Linked DNA regions of Homo sapiens: all the other regions are linked to region 2. The links are contacts of gene promoters, found by promoter capture Hi-C in blood cells and fetal thymus (Javierre and others, 2016). All regions are on one chromosome and are shown on one strand. The core of a region is centred on a gene start or on the middle of the fragment in contact, and the rest is flanking DNA. Distances in the headings are between cores, read along the strand shown. Region 1 overlaps UGT2A1 (UDP glucuronosyltransferase family 2 member A1 complex locus). Region 2 holds the start of SULT1E1 (sulfotransferase family 1E member 1). Region 3 has its middle 24 kb from the start of UGT2A1.

Region 1 (4,246 bases), core at 817-3,316, 210 kb after region 2:
TGCGTAATGTCTGACATAACAAGGACTTAATAAACGCTAGCAGTTGTTGAAGGCTGAATCTAGATGTCAAGTAGCTGTTTTTCATGCAGGCTAGATAGTTTTTGAACAGCACTTTTGGTAGATGTATGCTTGACTTAGTAATTCTCTTAAATAGCTCCTATTCACTACTAGCATTACCTATAATCTCTTGCACATATTTTATTTTATTCATTTATTTATAATATTTTCTTGAGGATTAACAAACTATTTTTGTAAACATATTACTAAAGTAGTAATATAATACTATATGTGTTATACATATTATTTATAAGTATTATTTGAATTTATAAATATTTGAATTTATAAATATTTATAGTAATATATTTATACATATTATTTGACAATCTTATATATTGTAACTGTTATTATAATGTTTAATTGTGATAAATGGAATTATATTCATGCATTAAAAATTTAAAAACTTACAGCATTAACATCTTTAAATTTCTGAATGAGTTTTGGTCCTATCTGAGGTTTCAATACCTAGGCCTGAATGTAGAGTTGAGATGTACAGAAGCTTTATCCAATTTAATAGTAAAAATGTAACAATTATGAAACACACAAAAAAGGGTTGGAGTATCAAGTTCAAAAGGAGGATTAGACAGCAGGAATCATAACTAAAACACTAAAATTAAAACAACAGATTTGAGAAGTAAGACACATTACCCATAAATCTGTAAATATCCTAAAATATGGAGCTACTATGACTAGTATCACTTTCTAGAAAGAAGGCTTTTAAGGATATTAATGGTTTGCCTCAAAATTGAGAAATAATTTTGTCTTTCCTTTTTTTCTTTAAAAGCAGAGAAAAACATTTGCTTCACATCTCATCAAATCTTCTGCATCAAGCCACATCATGTTAAACAACCTTCTGCTGTTCTCCCTTCAGATAAGTCTCATAGGAACCACTCTTGGTGGGAATGTTTTGATTTGGCCAATGGAAGGTAGTCATTGGCTAAATGTTAAGATAATTATAGATGAGCTCATTAAAAAGGAGCATAATGTGACTGTCCTAGTTGCCTCTGGTGCACTTTTCATCACACCAACCTCTAACCCATCTCTGACATTTGAAATATATAAGGTGCCCTTTGGCAAAGAAAGAATAGAAGGAGTAATTAAGGACTTCGTTTTGACATGGCTGGAAAATAGACCATCTCCTTCAACCATTTGGAGATTCTATCAGGAGATGGCCAAAGTAATCAAGGACTTCCACATGGTGTCTCAGGAGATCTGTGATGGCGTTCTTAAAAACCAACAGCTGATGGCAAAGCTAAAGAAAAGCAAGTTTGAAGTCCTGGTGTCTGATCCAGTATTTCCTTGTGGCGATATAGTAGCTTTAAAACTTGGAATTCCATTTATGTACTCCTTGAGGTTTTCTCCAGCCTCAACAGTGGAAAAGCACTGTGGGAAGGTACCATACCCTCCTTCCTATGTTCCTGCTGTTTTATCAGAACTCACCGACCAAATGTCTTTCACTGACAGAATAAGAAATTTCATCTCCTACCACCTACAGGACTACATGTTTGAAACTCTTTGGAAATCATGGGATTCATACTATAGTAAAGCTTTAGGTATGTAACAAATTTTGTTTTTATTACTTGAATTTGAACAAACAGACCTTTGTAGAGCCTCTTCTTTATTTCCCTATGTCTATTCTTTTTTAATTCCAAGTATTGATGTACTATATATTACTATCACTTGATAGCAGAAAAGAAGATAAAAGACATTGTACTTCAGAAGTACAGTGTGTTGTTTTCTAATTGCATGGACTTAAATATATCAATTCAGTTCTTTTATGGATAAAATATAGTGACAAATACTTCAATTTAAAAGTTGGGCTGGATCTCATGTAGATAATTATGCTCAAAATAGAAATTGCCTAGAAACTGCAGTGATGTGTGGAGAAAGCCGGAAAATGTTAAACTTTCCACAAGCTTATTATTAATACAGACATTAATATGCACGTTTAAGAACATACATATATGTGGATAATCTCTGATCATCACTTAATAAATATTAAGGCTCATAAAGAAACAAAATACATTAAGGCTTTATCACCTTTAATTGTAAGGTGTGAACTACAACCATTGATCAGGGTGATTTATCCATGCTAAGCTTATTTAATTTGCTTAAGTGTGATATGGTGTTTACCTGATGAATACAATATAATCAATGGTACTAGAATAAAAGCCTATATTGATCATGTTGATACATTTATACACATATTTGTCTAAAAATCAAACAGGCCTTGCCCATTTTTTATGCTTTTGAATTTTATCATTTATTCTTCATTAATTATAGATTTCTTACTCTTTACTAAGCACTCTTTTAGATAGGAAGACTAAAATAAAGTCCATGGATTCAAGGATTTCACAAACAGATAAATCAGACATTAAAAGGAATATTTATTATGTGAATTATGTAAATATGGAAATATATACAAAATACAAAATGTAGAGGAGTTAGGTATTATGCGACAGACAGAGTGAGTTATTCTGAAAAACTTCAGAGTTCAGATAATGCATAAGGATATTTTAAAATACTGAATGTGAGTTTTTCTGCAAGGTAAGAATGGGGAAGGAAAAGTGTGCTCAAAGTTGAAGACAAAACAGCACAGGTGCGATGGATATTTCTGATAATTTAGTATTTCTGAAGGTTCAAGTGTAAGGTAGGGAGACATGGAGGAAGATGCTAATGACGTCGGAACCGCAAGAATGAGTGAATTAATTCAATGAATATTTCAAAGTCTCCTGTATGTCATTCTAAAAACATTTTAATCTAATAAGCAATTCAGGACCATCTAAAGGGAAATATTATGACCTGATTTTCATTTTACGTAAAACACTTGGACAGATGTGGCAGTAGAGTTGAGAGGTGTGAGACTAGACTAATGTATCACTCTAGGAAAGATGTGGTAGGAGCCTGCCCTACAGAAGTAGCTGATAAATGGAGGAAAATAATGCAGTATGAGACTACCTAGCAACACAATTGGGAGAGCAGGTGCTTACAGGCAACATCCACATAGCAGTCTGTGGCTGGGAAAAGTAATTCAGTCTCCTTGCACCTGAACTTCATTTATCTCATCTCTGACAGGGCTACTAAAAGGACTAAATTAGTTTACATCTGAAAGGATTTTAGAATAGTGTGGCCCAATCAACCCTGATAGCGAATATGGGAGAGTAAAAATTAATATTGCATTGAATTTTGGACATGCTGTGTATGTGATACTTTTGGGAATATTTGGCGAAATCCAGTAAGCAGCTGGATATACGGGATGAGATCTCAGAGGTAATCTCATGGGTTATTAACATTGACACATTAATTTGTGTGCATTCGTTACTGATAACAAAGTAATAATGCACAGACTGCAGAGACTGTAATGTTTGCTAAGCAGAGCTTGTAAGGCCTAGAGATGTTTACTAGCTAATGAATGAACATCCTAAATGCTATTAAAAATAATTTAAAGATGACGAAGTGCACTGTGTAAAACAGTGGGTTGCGTGAATGTTGGCAAAAGAAAAAGTGAGATTTCTGTGTAGTGATACCTACTGACACATTAGCTTCTTTTCTACAGATCTCTGTTCTAAAACAACTGTAAAGTTGATATGTATCAATCAAAATAAATATGCATAGGTTAGTATGTGAATGAGGATGTGAGATACTACAGCCATGTGAATGATTATTATCAAAAGCTGGTAAACCAATTATAATTAGCACTGATAGCAAAAGTCATCACCTCCTCTGGGTATGTTAAGTAATTGGCCCAAAATTCAAAAACAGATCTTTAAATCTTGGGATGTAAAAGAAGAGCTAGCTATTCTGTCATTCAGAGAATACAAGCCTTGCTACAATGATTATAGATAAACCTTCAAGTGTCCTATAAAGATAAAAGTGAATGGGAAACATCTTATGGTTGAAACTAGATCTTAAAAGAAAGCAGAGAAAAAAAATTGAAGTTTTGTGAAGCAATGAAACTGTCAAGATGGCAAAATCTCCTTCATATCCTCAGGTGTATGGTAAACTAAAAGGGACTCTGAATATGTGCAGCATCTCCGTTCATATAAGAGCGGAATGTACATAGACCGTCTCTTGGTCACAATTTGTATTTACATTTTCAATCCTACCACTTCAGTTTTGTCAACTGCTCATCATCAACCTTGGAATTCTAATTTTCATGATTACTATGCTCTTTATTTGTGAAGTTATC
Region 2 (4,559 bases), core at 1,718-4,217:
TGGAAGACATTTTGGCATTTTTTTAAACATTGTTTTACCATACCATCTAGCGATCACACACTTAGATATTTACTCAAATGAGGTATAAACTTGTGTCCACACAAAAACCTGCACATAATTGTTTTTAGCCATTTTATTCCTAATTGCCAAAACTTGGAGATAACCAAGATGTCCTCTAATAGTTGAATGGATAAACAAAGTGTGGTATATCCACATAATACGGTATTGCTCAGCAGTTCAAAAAAAAGAGTTATTTAGTCACCAAAAAAGATGGAGAAGTCTTGAATACATATAGTTAGGCCAAAGAAGCTAATCTGAAAATGTTGCATACTGTTTGACTCCACCTACGTGACATTGTGGAAAAGGCAAAACTACAGACAATAAAAAGATCAGTCATTGCTAGGATTTCAGAGTAGGGAAGGCAGGATGAATAGGTTTAGAACGAGGGATTTTTAGGGCAGTGAAACTGTTCTGTATGGTATTGTATTGACAAACTTGTGGCAATATGCATTTATCAAAAACTATAGAATTGTATACAACAGAGAGTAAATCCTAACGTAAACCATGGACTTTAGTTAATGCTGATGTATCAACACTGTTTTTTGTTTGTTTGTTTGTTTTTTGGGTTTTTTTTGAGAATTAGTCTGGCTCTGTTGCCCAGGATGGAGGGCAGTGGCACCATCTCGGCTCACTGCAACCTCTGCGTCCTGGGTTCAAGAGATTCTCCTGCCTCAGCTTCCCAAGTAATGGGGATTACAGGTTAACTTTGACAAAGGCTCAGTTAAACATGCAACTTATTTTCACATTATTAATATTAAAATCTTGCTATTTATAAAAAAGACTCTATAGGACTTTTAATCTTGATCCAGAGAAAGTGTGTGCTACAGAAAAAGCCCAATAGTCACAAAAAAGCCACAGTAATTGTTTTGGGAACTCTGTCACACAGAAGTGCCAGCTTTACACTTGTTTTCAGTGTTTCAGAGTATAACAGCAGTATGTCTGTCTGCATATCTGCCCACATTCTTTTTGTTTGACATTATTATAATACTTAATAAATGTACATATTTTCAAGATATCTGCCCAAATTCTGAGGGTCAAGATAAACATTAAAAACCGGTCCTTATCTGAGATCCATTTTTTTTTTTGACATTGACTCAAACATTTTGTAACTCAGTCTGTACCCATTACTCATGGAGAAGAATGAGGTTTCAGGGCCATCTTGCCTGTTGTTTTGTTTTTATCAGTAAGTGAATTCTTAACATTAGAAAGATTTTCTAAGAATAAATGTGTATTGAACATCTGTGGTTGCCAGAATTACATGAGTTAGGAGCATTTGTGACATCCCTGCAACCAATTGTTTACAAGTGAAAAACAGACAGATGTATTGAGGTTAAATCTGTTTATATTAGCTTGTGCTCATTTTCTGATTTTTTTGGACTAAAAAATGTTTTCGCTAAACAATAAAGGAAACTTCATAGATTCTTGTCATTAAAAAAATAAAGTGAAGCTATGCTGCAAGGTTAAAAATTATATTCTGTATTAAATTTGTATATATATACTTAATTTTTAAAGGTACATAGTAGGCATATGAATGAGTAAATTTGTACATTTAATGATTGTTTTTCAACACATATTTTATTTAACTCAAATAATATGACAGACTGCATAAAACAAAGTAAAATGAAAATCTAAATTTGGGTCCCTGGTTACTCCTTTTCTACCTTAATTTTCTATTATGAAAAGCCCCATTTTTCAGAAACCACTTAACACCTCTTATTTTGCATAAGGCTAGATATTGCTTTCTATAACAACTATAGCCCCCTTAACTTCTTATATTTCTTGAATAAATCAGCCACTTTTATTCAGTAAATACATATTCAATGCCTAGCCTACTAGATGCCAGAAAAAAATGCTAATTACAGAGTAAGACCCTGTTTTCAAGCTATTTATAATTTAAAAAGTACTCTGGACAAGCAAACATTGATTTACAACACAGTAAAATAAATACTAGTTAGGAGAAAGTTCAAAGTTTAAAAGTCACTAAGAGAAACATAGAGTCTTGTAAGAGTGAGCCTCTCAAAGGAAATGTAATCTAACAGTAATTAATAGAGAAATAAGAAATAACAGGGTTGGAGGTGTTGATGGGGTGGAGCAAAGGATAATTTTCTTAAGTGACAGAGTAGGTGCAGAAAAATGAAAAGAAAGGTAATGCATTTGTGGATTCCACAAACCCTTGGCCATTTATTTTTCTAATTCTCTTGTGTAAATTCCAAGTGTTGGTAGCTATCATTACCTGAAAAATTCACAGTATGCTATTTTGTGGTTGGGAGCAGAGAGAAGTCAGGTTTCTAAAATAATAATCGAAAGGTGAGTGATGTTTACATTCTTTCTTTAGCTGTCATCTGCTTTTTAAAATTTTCAGGTCTGCTTAAGAGTTAAAGGCAAAGAGTTTAAATAGGTGTTTTCCAATTGACATGTTAAGATACAACCCAATGACTTCTTTGGCAGGTCTTAATAAACTGAGCTAGGTCTGATTGAGGGTCCTTGCTGTCTTATTTCTTTCCTCATTGGCTTCTCTTTCTTCACTCCAATAAGTTTATTCTTTTGAAAGTTAACCATAGTCATGCTATTATTTGTCAATGAGTGAATAAGGGATTCTCCCTTCCCAGTCTCTCTTCCCAGGCCTCTTCTTTCTCATCTTTTCCTTTTCTCCCTCCTTCTTCCCCAACCCCTGACGGCAGACTTGGGAATTTGAATATGAGCCAAATAATTAAAAAAATAACAGCAGGATATTTCTACATCTCCATGAATGAACATGACTCTGTGTGGTTACTGCAGCTGCAGGTATGCATTTACATCTACATTAACTATTGCATCATGGACTTCATGAAGCCAAGCCCCCAAATTAATCTCCACCTCCTTCTCTGGCATTCAGGATATAAACTCACCAGAAACATTCCAAATGCAGAAGTGGTTCTCATCTTTTTTTGCAGCTTAAGATCTGCCTTGGTATTTGAAGAGATATAAACTAGATCAATTTCTTTCACAGGATCAACTAAACAGGTTGTACTTTTTTATTATTAATATCAATACTTAGATTTTAGATATATAAAATATAGAATGAAAATTATGTATTACAAAGCTCTTAAAAATAAAATATACAAAGACCAAAGTCTTGATTGATACTTTAGTTAATTAATGATGTGAAGCATTTAAAACCTTTTAAAATAATTTGTTGTTAAAAATAATATTTTACATTTATGTAGTATTTTGTTGCTTATTGCTTTAATGTAAAATTACAGTACCATTGCTATCTTAAAAGTGCTGAATGCTGGACGTGTTCTCCATTTTACCAATGAGAAAATAAAGCAAGCAGGGTAGAAGGAGGTAGAATAGAGATTGACTTTTAGTTTTGTGTTCCTGTGATAAGGGGTCTTGCAAATAGGGGCATTACTTTCATGTAAGAAACTTCAGATAAATATGACAGAAATCCAAAGTCCTTGGTAAATAATTAATATGTAGGTCATTGACATATATTGCCTTTTAAATCTGTGAATCCTTACTTAGTAGAAACTAGAGAGCTTCTTGATCTAATAATTGAACTTAACAAATATTTCTGAACATCTACTTTGTGTCATAGTGCTGGAGATTGGGATAGAAACATGTACAAAAGTCACTTTGCCCTCATACAGGTAAATCTAAGAAAGTAGGGACTATGAGAACCCTATGTATCTATATCCACCATAGTATTCTAGCACTGACTACAGGGCCTAGGAAAAGGGTAGGCATTCACATAGGGAGTATTTGCTGGATAAAAGGCAGGTTGGAAGATGCAGGAGGGGAGTATGCAGAAAGAAAGGAAGAAAGAGAGGAAGGAGAGCGGGAAGGAAAAACACTTTCTGAGTTTAATTGAATTTATAAGTCACAATTTTAACAACTTTTTTGATGTTTATTTCTGAACAACTGACCTACATACTCAGAATAAAAAATTGACAATTTCTAACTGAAATAGATCTTTTGAGAAAATGGGGATCACATAGGAAGTAAATCCATACATTGTAATATGAGACAATTTACCAAAAGGAATAGAATGAGAAAAGATATTTTATTACATGCCACCTACTTTGCCTCTCAGACCAAAATTGACTATGAAGGAGTAGCTGGAAGTCAGCCAACCACTTAATGATAAATCTACCACTCCCAGCTGACTATAAGCCAATTCTTATAAACTTGGCTGAACACCAAGAAAGTAATTCACATGAGTAAGCAAACCAATAGGCAGGACAAATCGTGGTGCATTTTATACACATTTCTTCTAGTGAAAGATCTATTTTCTGAGACTAAGGAGAAGGCTTGGGGAACAAGTGATTTATTGATAAGGCTAATATGCATTTTGGAAATAGAAATCTCATATTTTTGGTGACATTACATCTGATATGATGTAGAGGAAGGTTTTTTAAAAGTTGAGATTGTCCTAAGGGCTGGGGCAATTTATGTGTGTAGAAGAACTTATCAGGCAGGTTTTTGGGCAAATGTGAACAGGAGGAAGATCTAGAAAG
Region 3 (4,342 bases), core at 116-2,615, 180 kb after region 2:
CAAAAATTAATTCAAGATAGATTAAAGACTTAACTGTTACACCTAAAAACATAAAAACCCTAGAAGAAAACCTAGGCAATACTATTCAGGACATAGGCAAGGGCAAGGACTTCAGGACTAAAACACCAAAAGCAAATGGCAACAAAAGCCAAAAGAGACAAATGGGATCTAATTAAACTAAAGAGCTTCTGCACAGCAAAAGAAACTACCATCAGCGTGAACAGGCAACTTACAGAATGGGAGAAAATTTTTGCAATCTACCCATGTGACAAAGGGCTAATATCCAGAATCTACAAAGAACTTAAACAAATTTACAAGAAAAAAAAAAACATCAAAAAGAGGGCAAAGGATACGAACAAACATTTCTCAAAATAAGACATTTATGCAGCCAACAGACACATGAAAAAAAAGCTCATCATCACTGGTCATCAGAGAAATGCAAATCAAAACCACAATGAGATGCCATCTCATGCCAGTTAGAATGGTGATCATTAAAAAGTCAGGAAACAACAGATGCTGGAGAGGATGTGGAGAAATAGGAACACTTTTACACTGTTGGTGGGAGTGTAAATTAGTTCAAGCATTGTGGAAGACAGTGTGGCAATTCCTCAACAATCTAGAACTAGAAATACCATTTGACCCAGTGATCTCATTACTGGGTATATACCCAAAGGATTATAAATCATGCTACTATAAAGACACATGAACACCTATGTTTATTGTGACACTATTCACAATAGCAAAGACTTGGAACCAACCCAAATGTCCATCAATGATAGACTGGATTAAGAAAATGTGGCACATACACACCGTGGAATACTATGCAGCCATAAAAAAGGATGAGTTCATGTCCTTTGCAGGTACATGGATGCAGCTGGAAACCATCATTCTCAGCAAACTATCACAAGGACAGAAAACCAAACACTGCGTGTTCTCACTCATAGGTAGGAATTTCACAATTAGAACATTTGGACACAGGGAGGGGAACATCACACACTGGGGTTTGTCGGTGTTGGGGGGGGGTTGGGGGAGGGATAGCATTAGGATAAATACCTAATGTAAATGATGAGTTGATGGGTGCAGCAAACCACCATGGCACATGTATACCTATGTAACAAACCTGCACATTGTGCACATGTACCCTAGAACTTAAAGTATAATATTAAAAAAAGAGGGACTGCTCATAAAACTAAATTAAAATTTTAAAAAAATGAATTTTGCTAGCTGGGCATTAATCCTTTCTACATGAAATATTTTAAATCTAGTGAAAATGATTTTAAAGAGAAAGTCAAAAGACACTACTTGTGGTTGAGATTTTAAATACAGTTATATATATATAATGTTCACTTCTATGAACAGATGATTAGGTATTATTATTGATCATTGTACCTAAGATCAAAAAACTAGGGTACTTAATGAAATGTTAAGATTTTGAAGACCCATAGACTTTATGATATAAAGGTAATGTTAATATGATCTTTGGTTATGCATACTGAATTTTGACATGAATACTCTATGTAAAGAAACAACATAAAGTTTTTACAAGATAAATGTGTGCTTTTAGAAAAATAATTGAGTTTCTCTGTGTTATATTTTTACCCACTTGATATTAAAAAATATGCAAAGTCAAAGAAATGCTTTCAAAAGCAACAGAATATGCAAGATGGGCTCTATGGATCTCTAAAATATACTATGGATCTCTAAAATTTTTTTTTAATTTTTAAATTTTTTTTTGAGTACACGGTAGATGTATATATTTATGGGATATATGGTATGCCTTTCATAAAGTCATGCAATGTGAAATAACCAAAATAGCCACCTTATGCAGAATGGGGTATCTGTCTCTTCAAGCATTTATCCTTTGAGTTACAAACAACTCAATTACATCTTTAAGTTATTTTATAATGTACAATTATTATTCACTATAGTCACCCTATTCTGCTATCAACAGTAGGTCTTATTTATTCTTTCTATTTATTTTGTAGACATTAACCATCTCCACCTCCTTCCTCCCTCCAGCCCCTCACTACCATTCTCAGCCTCTGGAAACCATCCTTCTTCTGTATGTCTATGAGTTCAGTTGTTTTGACTTTTGGATTCCACAAATAAGTGAGAACATGTGACGTTAGTCTCTCTGTGCCTGTCTTATTTCACTTAAAATAATTATCTTCAGTTCCACCAATGTTGTTGCAAATGACAGAATCTTATTCTTTCTTATGGCTGAATGGTACTCCATTGTGCATTATGTACCACGTTTTCTTTATCCATTTATCTCTTGATGGACACATACGTTGCTTCCAAATCTTGACTACTGTGAAGAGTGCTACAACAAACAGGAATGCAGATATCTCTTCAATACACTAATTTCCTTTCTTCTCACTATATACCTAGCAGTGAGATTGCTGGATCATATGGTACCTCAATTATTAGTTTTCTGAGGAACCTCCAAACTGTTCTCCATAGTGGTTGTATTAACTTACATTTCCACCATCATTTCCTTTTTCTCCACATCCTCAGCATCATTATTAATGTCTGTCTTTTGGATATAAGCCATTTCAACTGGGGTGAGATGATAGCTCATTGCAGTTTTGATTTACATTTTTCTGATGAACAATGATGTTGAGCACATTTTCATATGCCTGTTTGCCATCTGTATTTCTTCTTTTGAGAAATGCTTACTTCTGCCCATTTTTGACTGGATTATTAGATTTTTTTCCCCTATAGAATTGTTCAAGCTCCTTATATACTCTAGTTATTAAGCCCTTGTCAGATGGGTAGTTTACAGATATTTTCTCCATTTCTTTGGGCTTTCTCCTTACTTTGTGAATTGTATTTTTTTGATGTGCAGAAGCTTTTTAACTTGTGATCCCGTTCTTCTGTCTTTGCTTTGTTTGCCTATGCTTGTAAGGAATTGCTCAATAAATTTTTGCCTAGAACGATGTCTTGGAAATTTTCCCAAATGTTTTCTTGAAGTAGTTTCGTAGATTGAGGTCTTAGATATAAGTCTTTAATTCATTTTAATTTGATTTTGGTAGCTGGTGAGAGATAGGAGCTAGTTTCATTCTTCTGCATATGGATATCCAGTATTCCCAGCACTATTTATTGAAGAGACTGTCTTTTCTTCCAGTGTATATTCTTGGCACCTTTCTCAAAAATGAGTTCACTGTACGTGTGTGGTTTTTGTTTCTGGGTTCTCTATTCTGTTCCATTTGTTTCTGTGTCTGTTTTTATGTGAGTACAATGCTGCTTTGGTTACTATAGCTCTGTCATATAATTTGAAGTCAGGGAATGTGATTACCCCAGTTGTGTCTTTTTCCTTAGGATACCTATGGCTATTTGGGGTCTTTTGTGGTTCCACACACATTTTAGGATTGTTTTTTCTATTTCTGTGAAGAATGTCATTGGTATTTTTATAGGGATTGCATCGAATCTGTAGATTGCTTTGGGTAATATGGACATTTTAACAATATTGATTCTTCCAACGAATGAACATGGAATATCTTTTCATTTTTAATTTTATGTGTAGCTATTGTAAATGCTATTACTTTTTTATTTCTTTTTCATATTGTATGCTGTCAGAATGTAGAAATGTTGCTGATTTTTGTATGTTGATTTTATATCCTGCAACATTACTAAATTTGTTTATCAGGTCTAGTAGTTTTTCAGTGGTGCCCTTAGGTTTTTCCAAATATATTATCATATCATCTGCAAACAAGGATAATTTGACTTCTTCCTTTCCAATTTCCATGTCCTTTATCTTTCTCTTGTTTGATTGCCCCAGCTGGGACTTCAAGTACTATGTTGAATAACAGTGGTGACAGTGGGCATCCTTGTCATGTTCCAGATCTTAGAGGAAAGGCTTTCGGTTATTCCCCATTTAGTATGATACTAGATATGGGTCTGTTGATATTGTTTGGATTCGTGTCCATGCCCAAATCTCATGCCTAATTGTGATTCCCAGTGTTGCAGGAGGGGCCTGTTGGGAGCTGACTGGATCATGGGGGTGGATTTCTTCCTTTCTGTTCTCATGATAGTGAGTGAGTTCGCACTAGATGTAGTTGTTTAAAAGTGTGGAGTACCTCCCGCTTTGCTCTCTCTTCCTCTTGCTCTTGCCATGTGAAGACATGCCTCCTTCCTCTTCACCTTCTGCCATGATTGTAAGTTTCTTGAGGCTTCCCCACCCGTGCTTCCTATGCAGCCTGAAGAACTATGAGCCAATTAAACCTCCTTTCTTTATAAATTACCCAGTCTCAGGTAGTTCTGTATAGAAATGCAAGAATATACTAATATATCTGTCATATATGGCTTTTATTATGTTGAGGATTGTTTCAAGACAGTGTTG

What was found. Contacts are between HindIII fragments. The CHiCAGO score rates a contact against its expected background, and 5 or more counts as called.
Region 1: a fragment that was not itself captured here is called in contact with the fragment with the promoter of SULT1E1 in region 2 in 1 of 17 cell types (activated CD4 T cells); the score reaches 5.2 in activated CD4 T cells.
Region 3: a contact is called between a fragment that was not itself captured here and the fragment with the promoter of SULT1E1 in region 2, in 4 of 17 cell types (neutrophils, M0 macrophages, monocytes and 1 more). The highest score is 9.2, in neutrophils.

Annotation. Positions count from the first base shown.
Region 1 is chr4:69,644,294-69,648,539 of GRCh38, reverse strand. It overlaps UGT2A1 (UDP glucuronosyltransferase family 2 member A1 complex locus), which reads left to right. Exons shown (of 7, transcript NM_001252275.3): 2 at 842-1,610. The coding sequence starts at 896. Among named protein-coding and RNA genes, the nearest start is that of UGT2A2, 6.8 kb to the right of the region's middle. The HindIII fragment of the contact is 181 bases long and covers 1,976-2,156 here.
Region 2 is chr4:69,858,553-69,863,111 of GRCh38, reverse strand. SULT1E1 (sulfotransferase family 1E member 1) reads left to right here and starts at 2,967. Exons shown (of 8, transcript NM_005420.3): 1 at 2,967-3,063. The HindIII fragment of the contact is 12,779 bases long and covers 1-4,559 here.
Region 3 is chr4:69,675,005-69,679,346 of GRCh38, reverse strand. No RefSeq gene overlaps it. Among named protein-coding and RNA genes, the nearest start is that of UGT2A1, 24 kb to the right of the region's middle. The HindIII fragment of the contact is 2,976 bases long and covers 1-2,853 here.